2 separate regions of the Homo sapiens genome follow, and region 2 is linked to region 1. The links are contacts of gene promoters, found by promoter capture Hi-C in human tissues and cell types (Jung and others, 2019). All regions are on one chromosome and are shown on one strand. Each heading gives the region's core, a stretch centred on a gene start or on the middle of the fragment in contact. The rest is flanking DNA. Distances are from core to core; before and after follow the strand shown.

Evidence for each region. The method cuts DNA at HindIII sites, captures the fragments that hold promoters and counts their contacts. A contact is called where the count stands out against the background at its distance.
Region 2: a fragment that was not itself captured here is called in contact with the fragment with the promoter of USP53 in region 1 in 1 of the 25 tissues and cell types used here (aorta).

Annotation. Positions count from the first base shown.
Region 1 is chr4:119,209,401-119,213,962 of GRCh38, reverse strand. USP53 (ubiquitin specific peptidase 53) reads right to left here and starts at 1,250. Exons shown (of 19, transcript NM_001371395.1): 1 at 1,090-1,250. It overlaps LOC101929762 (a long non-coding RNA gene), which reads left to right and starts at 1,319. Exons shown (of 3, transcript NR_125931.1): 1 at 1,319-1,436. RefSeq lists enhancers at 856-905, 611-1,184, 1,516-1,635, 1,758-2,332, 3,488-4,562 and a silencer at 1,256-1,385. The HindIII fragment of the contact is 17,898 bases long and covers 1-4,562 here.
Region 2 is chr4:118,780,497-118,785,058 of GRCh38, reverse strand. All of the region lies in intron 8 of SEC24D (SEC24 homolog D, COPII component), which reads left to right. Among named protein-coding and RNA genes, the nearest start is that of SEC24D, 53 kb to the left of the region's middle. The HindIII fragment of the contact is 4,654 bases long and covers 1-4,562 here.

The DNA.
Region 1 (4,562 bases), core at 1-2,500:
CCTTTTCTTTTAATAACTAAAAGTGAATCAGATCTTAATCACAAAAACCTTCCTAAGTGTACTGCGTTTTTTTGTTTGTTTGTTTGTTTTTTGGAGACGGAGTCTGGCTCTGTCGCCCCTGCTGGAATGCAGTGGCGCGATCTCGGCTCACTGCAACCTCCGGTTCAAGCAATTCTCCTGCCTCAGCCTCCCGAGTAGCTGGGACTACAGGTTAAGTTTACTATTAAACCTACCTCAAAAATAGCCTTAGATATTCTTTGCAAATATATATATTTATACATACATACATACACACACACACATATATATATATATATATATCTATTTCCAGATAAGGAAACTTTCGGAAAACTTTGCTGTCCAACTGGTAATTCCCTGCATACTTTGCATTGATAAAGAAAACCTTGTAGCAGGGTTACAAACCTCAAAACATCCTCAGATTGCAGGTTTTAGAAACCCTCCCTATTACACCTGTGCAAGTACTTCCTGTTCTCCAACACTGTTTAAAAATAGTTTGGTAAATGCCCCGTAAGCCGCCCTTTAGAAGCTAAACATTAACTTTATATACATCACCACTACCACTGAGAAACCACCACCCCAAGAATCTCACGAGTCCAGTCATCTCTCTTCTCCAAGGAGGGAGCATAACCATCCTGGACCCCTTTAAGTAAAAAACTGTGTGCTCAGGCGAGGCAATGTGGCTTGGACAGCCAGGGGCAGGAGCCAAGTAAGGGTATTACTCACAATCCCAGCAGGACTCCAGCTTGTCGCCGCCCTCAAACACGGCAGCAATAACATCCAGGACCCAACAAGTACAGCACCTCCTCCCGCCTCGCGAGCGCCTCCAGCCTGGCCAGAGGCATCTCCGCCAGACGCGGCGAGAAGGGGCGAAAGGGCTGCGTGACCTCTGGCGTCTGAACCGCCCAGCAAAGAGAGTGTGTGTGTGCCCAGAGGGCCGGGGCCATAGGAGGTCGCCGGGCTGCGAGGGGAGAGACGAGCTCTGGGGCTAGAATGAGAGTGTCCCGGTCAGGCCCGCGGGGGTCGCAGGTCTCTGGATCTCCAACCAGAGGGCTAGTTTCGGAGACTTACCTTGAGCTCTACCCTCCTTGCGCGAGGAGCGTGCGGTCCAGGTAGAGAAATACAGGCCTTCCACTCCCACAGAGCTACCTCCCGCTGGCCCAGCCCCGCTTCACGCCGACACCCGCCAGACACACTGACTGCTGCCACAGTACCGAGGCTCACCGGGAACTGGAGCACAGGCGGCTGGTCTCCGCCGCCCAGAGCCCGACCCTGTGAGCGGAGCATGCGCATACGCCCCAATACCCAGGGACCAGTCAGGCCAGTGACACCTGCGATCAACAGGTCCCTGGAGCCCCGCCCCTCTCCCCGCCTCGAGCCCGCCCCTCGGAGCGGGCTCCGCCTTCACGCTCACCGAGGTAACTCCGCCTCCGCTCGCGATTTCCCGGCTTTCTGGACCTGCGGAATTCTATTCCCGCGGGGATTTGATGGCGTGCGCGATACAGTTGGCTTCCTCGGAGGCGCGAGATCGCGCGAGACCAAGAGATAGAACATTTCTGCAAAAGCGGCAGCTTGGCGCTGGAGTTTGGTTGTTGGGGGAAAGGTGGTTGTAGGACGTGCTGTCTGGTGTGGTGAGAAAGAGGCTAGTTCTTCAGGAGGAGGCGATTATTCTGGTGCTCTTGGTAGTTCATTCGGTATTTTCTAAGCTCAAGAACGCGGATCCACCAAGGACTTCACTTAGGTTAGGTGTTACCTGAGAGAACAATCCGTAGTTTGGCATCAGAACCCCATGCGGACACGCAGTTTCCTTTAGATTTCCGTGAGTCGTTAGACGATCTATTTGCAGTTAAATGGCTTCCTGTGGCGTGAATGTGTATTCCCCAAGCAGTTGTTTCTTGCCTTTAATTAGATAGCTTTAATAAGTCTGTTGACCTGGTTAATGATTGTCAGAAAAGTCTGTCCGCCTCTTTGCCGTGCTTTCGAACAGGTTTTAAGTTAAAAGGTACTGCTGGGAATTGGGCTAAACTTTGATTTTGAATAAACCTTTCTTAGGAATAGTAGTAAAGGAAAAACCCATCGTCACTGATACCGAATATCTCTCAAGTAAATAAAGAAGGTTTTGGAACTCATTCCAAAGCTGGTGTAAGTTGAACATACTAATTGTAAAAATGGATTTCAGTAAACCCAGAGGCACTTCTAAAAGTTTATTTGAAGAAAGAGGGGGAAGAAATATTGGTCGTTGATACAGGAGACAAATAGGACCCGTTTGTAATGTCTGAGGCTGAATCATTAAGAATTTATTGAGCATTTACTATGTTCCCTTTACTGAACTAGGCACTGTCAGAAATAGGATGAAATAAAGCCGTGGTTTCTGCCCTCAAAATATTAAAAACTTTGGGAGGGGTGGGGGAAAAAAAGATCCTACTCTGCATTTTTAAAACAATAAGAGCACACCATTAACTCTTCCCTCCGTTTCTCTAATGTCATTTTCTCCTCATTCTGCAGCTACTTTTCTGGTGCACTTTAAATACTGTTTTTCCGCTGCGTGGTCTCTGTTCGCCAGCACTCCATTTTCTTTTGCTGTTTCTGTTTAATGTTAATCCATGTCTCCTTGAGCAGTCTCTTTCCCATCATGGATTTACCTACCACGTGTCCTGTGCACCAAGAACTCTCAGGTGTATATCTATACGTCGGACATTTTTAAGCAACATCCTTTGGATTTCACACAGTATCTTAAATATGTCCCAAATTGACATGGACATCTTTACTATAATCTGTTCCTGATGCCATGTCCCTCTTCACCCATCTGGAACCTACACCATTTCCATTCCCTGTTTCAGAAAATGACACGCAACTGCCCAAGTCAGAAATCTATGAGTACCCCTGTTACTTTTCCTTCATTTCCTCTTTTCTAATATCAAATTTTGACTCTTATTTCCTTAAGTATCTCTCAGGTCCACCCCTCCACTCTCACTGTCTTAGTCCTTCAAGTAATCACCATCTCTTATGACTCATCTTCCTTGTACTATTGCAATATTCACAAGATATCCTCTAGTTATTTCCCACACCAGTCCAACCTCCATTCTATTAATAATTTTTCTAACGTGAAAATACGATCATTATACTTCTCTGCTAAGAATTTTTCATTACCCACCGGCAGGGCCTTTCATGATCACACTGTTAAACTCATCGCCATTCTTCCTCCAGTTCCTCCACATTAATCTTTCTAAAGTCCTTGCTTTCTATGTTCTTGGTTCTCTCAAGATCCTTTGGTTCTCTCTCGAATGCTTATCTCCATGGATCTTTTCATAACTTTCTGAGACAAAATTGTCATCCCTTTTGGGACTTATTTTTATAACAATTATGTTGTACTATATTTATTTCTCTGCAAATGTACCTGACAGAGTAACCCCCACCTCCACCCTTGAGAAATAATTTGAACTGTGGATAATAATGGCTTATACTACCTCCCTTCCTTATTTAGCAATTACAGAAGAATACCCTTCAGTTCACCCTGCTCAAGAATTTGACTAAACCCTGACTATACACTTTTAAAATTATATAATTTCATACTTTCTACCAGTTTTTAGCATATCTATGTACCGATCCTTAAATGGTAGAGTTGTAATAGGACCCAATTTAAGCATCAAGAGGGCAGAGTCTGAAGCAAACATGAAAAAATGGAAAATTGACATTGCAGGACAGCTGTTGCTCCCAGAAAATTTGTAATTGGGAAAGTCACAACAAGGATTTAAAATATTTTAATTCTTACTATTTGTCCTTGAGGGACGTGTGTGGGTTTGATTCCCTAGTTTCTGATTGGCTGGACCCAAATTTGTGAAGACCAATCTCTGCACCTCACACAGGCAAAGAGATCATGAAAGGGAGCAGGCTTGGCATGCCAAAGAATACCCTAGATCATTCAGCTGAGGCTTAGCCAAAGTTCACACCACCAGCACATATACACACCTCTTAGTGTTATTCTGGATTGATTATAACTCAGACTTTGAGAAATGTGCTACCCTGTGGCTAGATGCACCCTGCCACTAATGTCTGGTAGGAATAGCAACATTGTGTCCTGCGGAGCTGTAACCCAGTAGTTCCAGGAGGTAATCAACAGCTTAACCATGACTGAGCTGGGTGGGGTAGAGTGAAATATAGCATAGGGAAGTAGTAGATCAATGACTGACTCAGGGTTAGATACTAGACAGAATCCTTTTTTTCCTAAATGCATCCATAAGGACTGACAAGTGAATTTCCTTACTACCTAAGCTCTCTGTTTTTTCATGTTTCCAAGGCATAGCACAGTGCCTAGCACAGATGCTTAACAAGCAGTGTTTATTGGATGGAGTAAAAATTGGAAGTTTTGTTGATTTTTTTGAATAGAGTCATCTGTGTGGGCTAAAGTTGGAGAGGGCTTCTGTGGGAGATCAAATATGAACTTCAGCTTGGAAGGATTATAAGCAAGTGTATTTGAAGGCATTGAGGAAGATATGTAACTTAAAAGAGCAAAGTTTTAGAAACAGGATTGAACAAGGCCAGTA
Region 2 (4,562 bases), core at 1,071-3,570, 430 kb after region 1:
TGCTTGAGTTCAGTTTCCATGGTCTATATCAATGAAAATATTTTATTTCCCACACATGTTCTTATTTAAAAAAGCCATTTGGGGATGCACTACAAATTATGATTGCTTTAGTATTGCCAACAGATAAAAACAGCTGCACTGACTAGAATAACAATTTCATAAGGAATTTCCAGAACAGTAAAATTCTACATAAAGTTTAGCTTAGGTTTCACTATTATTCTCCCCCCACTCCAGTGTTTCTCTCAATATCATCTCACAGAGGAAGGTATGTAGTATTTGTGAGTGTGTGTTTGTGTGTATTTGGTGGCGGGGGGGGGGGCAGGGAAGGATGTTATGAGCAGTACCTGTAACAAAAAAGAGGATTTAAAAATCTTTAAAATATTATTTGTTGTTTGGGAAAATAAAACCACCATTTACTTTCTTGAAAAATATTTCTGTAAAATGCAGGTAAAATAGAAGAGCCATAATTATTAAATCTAGTGTTTGTAGGTATCCTGGAGTTCATCTACCACAAAGATCACTTTCCTTTATCCTAAACTGTAAATTAAAGTACATTGTTGTCTTAACATGGAATGAGATTTAAGTTTTTTGGGGTTTACTACATCCCATACTTCCTTGTCCTCTATAGTTTGAAAAGTTTTGAAAAATTCTTTAAATAGTTCAAACATAATTTTGTCTATATTTCTTCTTTCTTACAGAAAAGCATAGAAAATGTTTCATATTTATCAACTTTTATTTTGATAACAAGTCATCTTTCCTCTTATTTCAGTTTATTGATATAGAATAAATATATAAATGTATTTATTTCTCTAAATGCTTTTGAATTGATCATCTGTTTTTTAAATTAAATTTTTTTCTCAACTTTTTAAATTCCTGTTTTCAAAAATGCTCTCCTTCAAATGATTTTTGGCTGTGTGCCCAAATCAAATTAACTCACCAAAGATGATTTGCTGTATTACTGGAAGTAGCCCAGTCGGAGCACAGGGGATGGTTAGTCACCAGTGTTTTCTTCTGTTTAAATAGAGACAAGGTTTCGCCATGTTGGCCAGGCTGGTCTTGATCTCCTGAGCTCAAGTGATCTGCCCGCCTCAGCCTCCCAAATTGCTCGTATTACAGGCATGAACCACTATGCCTGGCCAGTCTTCAGTGTTTACGTCAATAGCAGATTGAACTGTGTGACCTTTAGAGCCCTATATTTTTTTCCACTCTGAAAGGAATTTGTAGAAAAAGTTTTAGACATATTTGGACAAATGCATAGCTTCCATAGGTGTCTACTCTAAAGGGAATTGATCATTTGGTTTGAGTTCTCTTAAGCTTCTTTACAGAAACAGTTTTATACTTGTATTTATACTTGTATAATCACTCCTGGGATTTTAGTGATGTTTTCAGTCATCTCATATACCATAATCTGGACAATAATCCATTGTTATTTGATATGATAATTTATAAACTATGACCATTTTATGAAAAACTTTATGTCACCTTATTTCAAAAAGAATTTAAGAATAACCAATTCAATTCAATGAATACTCATTGTTCTCCCAGTATGTGCTGGATACTGTTCTTGGCACTTGAGATATGTCAGTGAACAGAGCAGACAAAGATCTCTGCCCTCATGGAGCTTACATTCTAATGGAGACTAGACAGTGAACCTGGTAAGAAGGTTATCTAGGTCTATGGAGGAAGGAAAAAGTAGAGCAGACTTGGGGGATAACGTCTGCCTGGGAGGAGGTGGAGTATGGGTTTTGTAGGTTAAATAGGGTATTCAGGGCAGGCCTGATTGAGAAAGTGTCATTTAAATTCAGACCCTCAGGGGTCTGTTCCAAGATGGTCGAATAGGAACAGCTCCCGTCTGCAGCTCTGAGCGTGATTGACGCAGAAGACGGGTGATTTCTGCATTTCCAACTGAGGTACCTGGTTCATCTCATTAGGACTGGTTGGACAGTGGGTGCAGCCCACAGAGGGTGAGCCAAAGCAGGGCGGGGCGTCGCCTCACCCGGGAAGCCCAAGGGGTCAGGGGATTTCCCTTTCCTAGCCAAGGGAAGCCGTGACAGACTGTACCTGGAGAAAACGGAACATCCCCACCAAAATACTGCGCTTTTCCAATGGTCTTAGCAAATGGTACACCAGGAGATTATATCCCATGCCTGACTCGGTGGGTCCCACACCCAAGGAGTCTTGCTCACGGCTAGTGCAGCAGTCTGAGATCAACCTGTGAGGCAGCAGCCTGGCAGGGGGGAGGGTTGTACCCCATTGCTGAGGCTTGAGTAGGTAAACAAACCAGCCAGGGAAGCTCAAACTGGGCGGAGCCCACCACAGCTCAGCAAGGCCTGCTGCCTCTGTTGACTCCACCTCTGGGTCCAGGGCATAGCTGAACAAAAGGCAGCAGAAACTTCTGCAGACTTAAACATCCCTGTCTGACAGCTCTGAAGAGAGTAGTGGTTCTCCCTGCACGGTGTTTGAGCTCTGAGAACGGACAGACTGCCTCCTCATGTGGGTCCCTGACCCCCATGTAGCCTAACTGGGGAGACACCTACTGGGACTGACTGACACCTCATACAGGTGGGTGCCCCCTGGGACGAAGCTTCCAGAGGAAGGATCAGGCAGCAATATTTGCTGTTCTGCAATATTTGCTGTTCTGGAGCCTCTGCTGGTGATACCCAGGCAAACAGGGTCTGGAGTGGACCTCCAGCAAACTCCAACAGCCCTGCTGCTGAGGGACCTGTTAGAAGGAAGACTAACAAACAGAAAGGAATAGCATCAACATCAACAAAAAGGACATCCACACCAAAACCCCATTTGTAGGTCACCAACATCAAAGACCAAAGGTAGATAAAACCACAAAGATGGGGAGAAACCAGAGCAGAAAAGCTGAAAATTCTAAAAATCAGAGTGCCTCTTCTCCTTCAAAGGATTGCAGCTCCTTGCCAACAATGGAACAAAGCTAGATGGAGAATGACTTTGACGAATTGACAGAAGTAGGCTTTAGGAGGTCAGTAATAACAAACTTCTCCAAGCTAAAGGAAGACGATCAAACCCATCGCAAGGAAGCTAAAAACCTTGAAAAAACATTAGACGAATGGCTAACTAGAATAAACAGTGAAGAGAAGACCTTAAATGACCTGATGGAGCTGAAAACCATGGTGCGAAAACTACGTGACGCATGCACAAGCTTCAGTAGCCGATTCCTTCAAGTGGAAGAAAGGGTATCAGTGATCGAAGATCAAATTAATGAAATAAAGTGAGAAGTTTGGAGAAAAAAGAGTAAAAAGAAATGAACAAAGCCTCCAAGAAATATGGGACTATGTGAAAAGACCAAATCTGTGTTTGATTGGTGTACCTGAAAATGACATGGAGAATGGAACCAAGTTGGAAAACACTCTTCAGAACATTATCCAGGAGAACTTCCCCAACCTAGCAAGACAGGCTAACATTCAAATTCAGGAAATACAGAGACCACCACAAAGATACTCCTCGAGAAGAGTAACCCCAAGACACATAATTGCCAGAATCACCAAGGCTGAAATGAAGGAAAAAATGTTAAGGGCAGCCAGAGAGAAAGGTCGGGTTACCCACAAAGGGAAGCCCATCAGACTAACAGCGGACCTCTAGGCAAAAACTCTACAAGCCAGAAGAGAGTGGGGGCCAATATTCAACATTCTTAAAGAAAAGAATTTTCAACCCAGAATTTCATATCCAGCCAAACTAAGCTTCATAAGTGAAGGAGAAATAAAATACTTTACAGACAAGCAAATGCTGAGAAATTTTGTCACCACCAGGCCTGCCCTAAAAGAGCTCCTGAAGGAAGCACTAAACATGGAAAGGGACAACAGATACCAGCCACTGCAAAAACATGCCAAATTGTAAAGACCGTCAATGCTAGGAAGAAACTGCATCAACTAACGGGCAAAATAACCAGCTAACATCATAACGTCAGGATGAAATTCACACATAACAGTATTAACCTTAAATGTAAATGACACAATTAAAAGACACAGACTGGCAAATTAGATAAAGAGTCAAGACCCATCAGTGTGCTGTATTCAGGAGACCCATTTCACATGCAGAGACACACATAGGCTCAAAATAAAGGGATGGAGGAAGATCTACCAAGCAAATGGAAAGCAAAAAAAAAAAAAAAAAAAAAAAAAGCAGGGGTTGCAATCCTAGTCTCTGATAAAACAGACTTTAAAACAACAAAGATCAAAAGGGACAAGGCCATTGCATAATGGTAAAGGGATCAATTCAACAAGAAGACCTAACTATCCTAAATATATATGCATCCAATGCAGGAGCACCCAGATTGATAAAGCAAGTCCTTAGACACCTAAAAAGAGACTTAGACTCCCACACAATAATAATGGGAGACTTTTTAGACAGATCAATGAGACAGAAGGTTAACAAGGATATCCAGGACTTGAACTCAGCTCTGCACCAAGCAGACCTGATAGACATCTACAGAACCCTCCACCCCAAATCAACAGAATATACATTCATCTCAGTACCACATCACGCTTATTCCAAAATTGACCACATAGTTGGAAGTAAAGTACTCCTCAGCA